Regions from separate parts of the Homo sapiens genome. Here region 1 is linked to region 2. The links are contacts of gene promoters, found by promoter capture Hi-C in human tissues and cell types (Jung and others, 2019). All regions are on one chromosome and are shown on one strand. Each heading gives the region's core, a stretch centred on a gene start or on the middle of the fragment in contact. The rest is flanking DNA. Distances are from core to core; before and after follow the strand shown.

What was found. Contacts are between HindIII fragments. The study calls those that stand out against the background at their distance.
Region 1: a contact is called between a fragment that was not itself captured here and the fragment with the promoter of SLC1A3 in region 2, in 2 of the 25 tissues and cell types used here (bladder and small bowel).

The regions. Positions count from the first base shown.
Region 1 is chr5:36,507,660-36,511,581 of GRCh38, reverse strand. No RefSeq gene overlaps it. Among named protein-coding and RNA genes, the nearest start is that of SLC1A3, 97 kb to the left of the region's middle. The HindIII fragment of the contact is 3,090 bases long and covers 706-3,795 here.
Region 2 is chr5:36,604,475-36,608,883 of GRCh38, reverse strand. SLC1A3 (solute carrier family 1 member 3) reads right to left here and starts at 2,278. Exons shown (of 10, transcript NM_004172.5): 1 at 2,149-2,278; 2 at 280-555. The coding sequence starts at 460. RefSeq lists an enhancer at 2,072-2,171. The HindIII fragment of the contact is 11,728 bases long and covers 1-4,409 here.

The DNA of each region.
Region 1 (3,922 bases), core at 1,001-3,500, 97 kb after region 2:
CTGTGAATCCTTCTGGTCCTGGACTTTTTTTGGTTGGTAGACTATTAATTATTGCCTCAATTTCAGAGCCTGTTATTGGTCTATTCAGAGATTCCACGTCTTCTGGTTTCGTCTTGGGAGGGTGTATCTGTCCAGGAATTTATTGATTTCTTCTAGATTTTCTGGTTTGTGTAGAGGTGATTATAGTATTCTCTGATGGTAGTTTGTATTTCTGTGGGATCAGTGGTGATATCCCCTTTATCATTTTTTATTGCATCTATTTGATTCTTCTCTCTTTTCTTCTTTATTAGTCTTGCTAGTGGTCTATCAATTTTGTTGATCTTTTCAAAAAACCAGCTGCTGGATTCATTGATTTTTTGAAGGGTTTTTTTGTATCTTTGTCTCTTTCAGTTCTGCTCTGGTCTTAGTTATTTCTTGCCTTCTGCTAGCTTTTGAATTTGTTTGCTCTTGCTTCTATAGTTCTTTTAATTGTGATGTTAGGGTGTCGATTTTAGATCTTTCCTGCTTTCTCTTGTGGGCATTTAGTGCTATAAATTTCCCTCTACACACTGCTTTAAATGTGTCCCAGAGATTCTGGTATGTTGTGTCTTTTTCTCATTCGTTTCAAAGAACATCTTTAGTTCTGTCTTCATTTCATTATTTAACCCAGTATTCATTCAGAAGCAAGTTGTCCAGTTTCCATGTAGTTGTGAGGTTTTGAGTGAGTTTCTTAATCCTGAGTTCTAATTTGATTGCACCATGGTCTGAGAGATAGTTTGTTGTGATTTCTGTTCTTTTACATTTGCTGAGGAGTGCTTTACTTCCAATTATGTGCTCAATTTTAGAATAAGTGTGATGTGGTGCTGAGAAGAATGTACACTCTGTTGATTTGGGGTGGAGAGTTCTGTAGAGGTCTATTAGGTCTGCTAGTTGCAGAGCTGAGTTCAGGTCCTGGATATCCTTGTTAACCTTCTATCTCATTGATCTGTCTAATATTGAGAGTGGGATGTTAAAATCTCCCATTATTATTGTGTGGGAGCCTAAGTCTCTTTTGTAGGTCTCTAAAGACTTGCTTTATGAATCTGGGTGCTCCTGTATTAGGTGTATATATATTTAGGATAGTTAGCTCTTCTTGTTGTATTGAACCCTTTACCATTATGTAATGGCCTTCTTTGTCACTTTTGATCTTTGTTAGTTTAAAGTCTGTTTTATCAGACTAGGATTGCAACCCCTGTTTTTTTTTGCTTTCTATTTGCTTGGTAGATCTTCCTCCATCCCTTTATTTTGAGCCTATGTGTGTCTTTGCATGTGAGATGGGTCTCCTGAATACAGCACACTGATGGGTCTTGACTGTTTATCCAATTTGCCAGTCTGTGTCTTTTAATTGGAGCATTTAACCCATTTACATTTAAGGTTAAGATTGTTATGTGTGAATTTGATCCTGTCGTTATGATGTTTGCTAGTTATTTTGCCTGTTAATTGATGCAGTTTCTTCATAGCATTGATGGTCTTTACAATTTGGCATGTTTTTGCAGTGGTTGTTACTGGTTGTTTCTTTCCATGTTTAGTGCTTTCTTGGGGAGCTCTTGTAAGGCAGGCCTGGTGGTGACAAAATCTCTCAGCATTTGCTTGTCTATAAAGGATTTTATTTCTTCTTCAATTATGAAGCTTAGTTTGGCTGGATATGAAATTCTGGGTTGAAAATTCTTTTCTTTAAGAATGTTAAATATTAGCACCTACTCTCTTCTGGCTTGTAGGGTTTCTGCCTAGAGATCTGCTGTTTGTCTGATGGGCTTCCCTTTGTGGGTAACCTGACCTTTCTCTCTGGCTGCCCTTAACACTTTTTCCTTCATTTCAACCTTGGTGAATCTGACAAATATGTGTCTTGGGGTTGCACTTCTTGAGGAGTATCTTCGTGGTGTTCTCTGTATTTCCTGAATTTGAATGCTGGCCTGCCTTGCTAAGTTGGGGAAGTTCTCCTGGATAATATCCTGAAGAGTGTTTTCCAACTTGATTCCATTCTCCCCATCACTTTCAGGTACACCAATCAAATGTAGATTTGGTCTTCTCACATAGTCCCATATTTCTTGGAGGCTTTGTTCATTTGTTTTTACTCTTTTTTTTCTAAATTTCTCTTCTCCCTTTATTTCATTAATTTGATCTTCAATCACTGATACCCTTTCTTCCACTTGACTGAATTGGCTATTGAAGCTTGTGCATAAGTCATGAAGTTCTCGTGCCATGGTTTTCAGCTCCATCAGGTCATTTAAGGTCTTCTTTACACTGTTTATTCTCGTTAGCCATTCGTCTAATCTTTTTTCCAGGTTTTTAGCTTCCTTGCAATAAGTTCGAACATCCTCCTTTAGCTCAGAGAAGTTTGTTATTACTGACCTTCTGAAGCCTACTTCTGCCAACTCATCAAAGTCATTCTCTGTCCAGCTTTGTTCCGTTGCTGGCGAGGAGCTGCAATCCTTTGGAGGAGAAGAGGTGCTCTGATTTTTAGAATGTTCAGCTTTTCTGCTCTGGTTTCTCCCCAACTTTGTGGTTTTCTCTGCCTTTGGTCTTTGATGTTGGTGATCTACAGATGGGGTTTTGGTGTAGATGACCTTTTTGTTTATGTTGATGCTATTCCTTTCTGTTTTGTTAGTTTTCCTTCTAATAGTCAGGTCCCTCAGGTGCAGGTGTGTTGGAGTTTGCTGGAGGTTCACTCCAGACCCTGTTTGCCTGGGTATCACCAGCGGAAGCTGCAGAACGGCAAATATTGCTGCCTGATCCTTCCTCTGGAAGCTTCATCCCAGAGGGGCAGCCACCTATATGAAGTGTCTGTCAGCTGCTACTGGGAGGTATCTCCCAGTTAGGCCACATGGGGGTCAGGACCCACTTGAGGAGGCAGTCTGTCCGTTGTCAGAGCTCAAATGCCGTGCTGGGAGAACCACTGCTCTCTTCAGAGCTGTCAGACAGGGATGTTAAAGTTAGCAGAAGTTGTCTGCTGCCTTTTGTTCAGCTATGCTCTGCCCACAGAGGTGGAGTCTAGAGGCAGTGGGCCTTGTTGAACTGCAGTGGGCTCCACCCATTTCGAGTTTCCTGGCTGCTTTGTTTACCTACTCAAGTCTCTGCAATGGCGGATGCCCCTTCCCCAGCCAGGCTGCTGCCTTGCAGTTTGATCTCAGACTGCTGTGCTAGCAGTGAGCAAGGCTCTGTGGGTGTGGGACCCATGGAGCCAGGCACGGGAGAGAACCTCCTTGTCTGCCAGTTGCTAAGACCTTGGGAAAAGTGCAGTATTTTGGCAGGAGTGTCCTGTTTTTCCAGGTCCTGTTTTCTTGGCTTTTCCTAGCCAAGGGAAATCTGTCACGGCTTCCCTTGGCTTGGAAAGGGAAATCCCCCGACCCCTTGCACTTCCTGGGTGAGGCTATGCCCCACCCTGCTTCAGCTTGCCCTCTGTGGGCTGCACCCACTGTCCAACCAGTTCCAATGAGATGAACCAGGTACCTCAGTTGGAAATGCAGAAATCACCCGTCTTCTGCATTGATCATGCTGGGAACTGCAGACCGGAGCTGTTCCTTTTTGGCCATCTTGGAACATCCCCAATTATGCTCCGTTTTAACATTTTTAATTGTGTATACTTTTTTCTGTGCCAGGTGTTAATTTAGTTACCTTTTAAGAAAAACTTAGATTTTCTTGACATCTGTTGTTTATTTTCTAACTCATTGAATCCTTACTTACCTTTGTCATTTCTTTCATTCTGCTTTCCTTGGGTTACCCTGTTCATTTTTTTTTAACTCCTGGAGTTGAATATTCAATCATAAATTTTGAGCTTTTATTATTTCTTTGAATGTCATAACTCCTGGTCAAAACACAAATTTTGGTCTAACGCAGTCGGTGATGAGCTCCCACGGTCTGCCCAGCCCTTGTTCTTAATCAGGAGGTGAATTAAAGTCTTCAT
Region 2 (4,409 bases), core at 1,029-3,528:
CCTTATCCTTACATGAAATGGGAAAATATTTTATTTATTTTTCTTCCTCACACAATTGATTTGCATAATGCCTAATGATGCCTAATGATGTGTTTACTATATATTGCTCCAAACAAGCCAAAACAGTCATTTTTATGGAGAAAAATCATCAAGTTCAGAGGAAAGCCTAGGCTACCATTTTGATACCTACAACTAGTTCATCTGATAATATTCCCCGGGCAGCCAGATGCCCCAGAGAAACAAGATACAGGTTTTTTTGTTTTTAATCAAATGACTCACCCACAATGACAGCGGTGACTGTGAGCAGCACAAAAGCATTCCGAAACAGGTAACTTTTAACATCCTCCTTTGTAATGTTCTGCACTTTCTTCTTGGCCAAAAGTGTGCGTTTACGGACTCCCTGCTGGAATCTCTCCATCCTGCCCCCCATCTTGGGCTCTTCTCCATTGCTTTTAGTCATATTTTACTTTTCTAGGAGGGTCTCTTCTTTGCACTTCAGTGTCTGGGAATCACCCACAGAAAGCCAAACCTCCTCTTTGGTATTAGAAAACACAACTAGAATGGGAGAAAAAGAGACATGAGTTATAGCCTCCAGGGGTGAGAAATCAGTGCTGCTCCACACCAGGCAAGCTCTTGGCAAATTGCATAATCTCAGCAGGAATCAAGGACTGGAGAGCCACAATACCAGACCTCAAGGTTGCAGTGTGCATATTTTAGTGGACCACGTGTGAGAAATGTGCATAAATTCGGAATATATTCTATTTTCTTTTTAAAAATCCGTCCTTCCCCTTCCAATGAGGCTATAAAAGGGTTCTTCAGAGCTAGATCTGACTGAGAACCCCTATTCCCACCCTCCCCCGCAGAACCCAGCTGATGCCTTGCACAACGTACACAATCAGTAAATGTCCAATTGAACTGAATGCACAGAAAGTATTCAATCATTACTTGACAAATTATGCTGTATACATGGTTGAAAGCATAACCAGGTCAATAAAAATAATTAAGATACTGATAGGTGGGAGTTGTCTCTGTTACATGCAGTAAAGTAACCAGCTATTTTCTTCATTAAGAAAAAAATATAATAATATCTACTAGTAAATATGGTCATAAAAAGAACACAAGTGCCCACAGTACATGGGAAATACATGTGACTATTTTACAGGGTAATTTTTTCATTTTTTTTCCATGAAATAAGCAAAGTGCTCTGGGCACATCTATAAATCATCTGAAATCACAATTCAGCTTCGTTTATCACAAGTAGAAGTATGAAGTAGTGTTTTTCTTTGTGACACACATGCTGGAATCTTCCGAGGAAACTATCGCTGACTTTTTAGCGTTTTAAAATTTAGGATTTCTAGAACAGATGAGATGAAACCAATTTTCATTCCAAACATTACAGCTTGTGGTTTCTGGTTTCTTTAAAGCACTCACGCTATTTAACTACATTTCAGTAAATCTCTTTCCTGGTGGAAATCAGCTGTTCTGAAAAATCAAGGGATTCCTCCTGGTGCTTTACAGGAGCTCTAATCCATAGCCCTTCCCATAATCAATCCGAGTGAAAACCAGCCGTACCATGGATGTGTGTCGCTGCCAACGCAAGCAGCCAGCGTGTGCGCCTGTGGGGGAGGTAACTGGAAACCAAAGGACTCCTCGCAAATGACTTCTCGCAATCCCAGTGCAGGAAAAAAAAAGACTTGTCTTAACAGTTTGCCTTTTAAATAAAATTGCAAGTTGGGGTCAGTGATACTAAGACTTCTAATTTGTTTAAGACTTCACACTGGATTAAATGCTTAGGGAGAAGTGAAGACCGGGAAATAGGAGAGACCAGATTTTTTTTTTTTTTAAACTAATAGCTCTGATTCCTCTTACCAGTCACTTTTAAGCAGATCCGCTCAACCTTGATCCTTTTCTAGATCTCGCGCCACAATCTGCCCCCAATCCACCCCGAATGACTCAACTCCGAATTAACAGCGGACCCGGCATAAACAGACACCACACTCTCACGACGTGAGATGACTAACAAGGACTTTATCTACCAAAATGGCTAGCCTTGATTCAGGCTACTCCTCTGCTTGGAAGGCAAAATACATCGGCAGAGAAGTGAAAGGAGAAATTAAACCCAGCAGGAACACAGAATGTGACACTTACCTTTTCTGATTTTGTAAGGGGTGGAAGATATCAAGCAGTAACGAGGTGAATTCCCCAGCAGGTACAACGGAGCAACAATCCGCAGCGCGCGTAAGCAGGCAGGCTAGCCCTGACAGTGTGCATGTGCTCTGAAACTGCAAGTTACTATCAGGGCAACTTAAGAAAAGGGGAGGAGTCTGTGCCCGGGAAAGGAGGAGTGGGGAATGGAAACCGCACAGGGAGGAGGGGGAAACCCCGAGGTTTCTGGAATATTGATTAATCTTGGCACACCAGAAGCAGGCTTGCTGGCTTTGTTTTGCTCCTTAGACCACTTTCACGCTTTGTCAGTTCACTGTCATTAGAAATGCAAAACCGGGACTAGGAAGAATTGAAAAATAAAGCGCACACAATCGGAAAGCTGAAAGTCTTGATTAGAACGTTTCAAAGACTTTTCTAAGGCTAAATTTAATTACCTCACATTATTGCATGTTTCCTCCCTTTCAGGGAAGACGAGGGTGTGCTCTTTAGCCTGGTTGTACAACTGTTACGAGAAAGTTCCTTTTTCGAATCGGGGAATTAACTGACGTTTCTTGGGAAGACACTGAATGCAGACAAGTATGTAGAAAAAAAATAATGCTTACTACGATTCTCTAAATTTGTCTAAAGTTAGGGACATGCCTCTATTTCAGCAGTTGAAACTTCAAAACTTCATTTTAACAAACCTAATTTAGCTCACACTGCCTGTGTTGCAAAGACGGAAAAGGTAGCAAATGTAAAGAGACTGGAATTTTTGCCAAACTAGAAAATGAAAAGCATTTTAAGACCAAGAGTGCAAAGTACACTTGAGATTTGGTGATTCAAAAGATAGGTTGCTGTTCAGATGTCTCCATTTTAAAGGATGCTAAATGTTCTCCCTACCACACACAACTTTTTTAGAGCTAAAAAATTCTCATTGCCTTGAGAAGGTAACTTGAGCTTCTAGTCCACTTTTCTTAAAAGAAAAATAAATTGTGAAAATAGATATTAGAAAATAAAAAAAAATTTTTTTGAGGTGACTTATTCCCAAAACTTAAATCTTCTTTAGAAGGAAGAAAATGGTTCATTAGAAACAAAAATTTATACCAGAATCACAGCCTGAGGTTTGGATTCTTGTTCACTGAATTTAATATTCCCCATGCAAAATATGCTCAATTCTTGGTCTATTATTCAACAAGAAAGTATGTCTTTTTTCCCCTCAATACAAATCTCTGGAGATCATAAAGAAATATCTCCTTTCACCCTCAACTGTATGTCCTTTTAAACAGCTACTGGTTGGAAAGCAATGGTGAATCATGTCAATGCTTTAAAATTACAAATCAGCAGCAATTATAACAGCTTTCTAACATGCTATCATTTTAAGAACTTACTGAAAGTACATGCTTTTGACATTCCCAGCCCTCAGTGACCCTTCCCTTCCTCTGATCTCCTAGGTCACTGAGCATCTATACTACATTGTTTAGCACTTAATTATACCATGTTTTGTACTGCATCCTTCTTTTTAAGCTCATGTTAAGTTTTGGTTTCTCAACTAAATTATAAGTTCTTTGAGGGCAAGAACTTGTCTTATACCTAATACAGAGTCAATATTAAGTAACTCTTTTTAAGTGGGTGGAATAATATTAGGATGTGAAACAAAACGCTTTTCAATCTTTTGTGTTAAAACACAATTACTAGTTTTTACATTGGTGCCTCTGGTTTAGGTGCATGGAGCCATTTCTCAATGCCATGACTACTTTTAAAAGCATTTATTTACTATACCAGGTCCTATCTGAGCCATGAGTTTAGGATTAATTTGCACACCCCCCCCCCCCACCGCTTTTTTTTTTTGGTGGAAATGACTTTGACTTGTATTGCAAGGGAACTCGAAAGAGAAATCTGATTTTAAATGGGGTTTCAAGCCCAGTGGCATTTCCATTTTTTGTTTTTATTTTTGTTAATAGGCAAGAAAAAGGGCTGGAAAACCACACTTTGGTTAGCATAGAGATGGGAAGACCCTGGTGCCCTTTCTTTTTCACTTTTTTTTTCCTCTCTAATCCCTAAAGCTTGGTTAAAAACCATTTCATTATTTCAGTTTGTGTAGACATTATGGGAGTCTGGTATTCTGTTGAGAAGGGAAGTAATTCACCACTGAAAGTTTTGTTGGCTGTAATAAAACCTAATGAGAAAATGAGATGCAAAGAGTCTCAGTTCAGAGTTCATCCAATTTTAGTCTGGAGGGAAACATTGGGAATTACTTCTTTAAG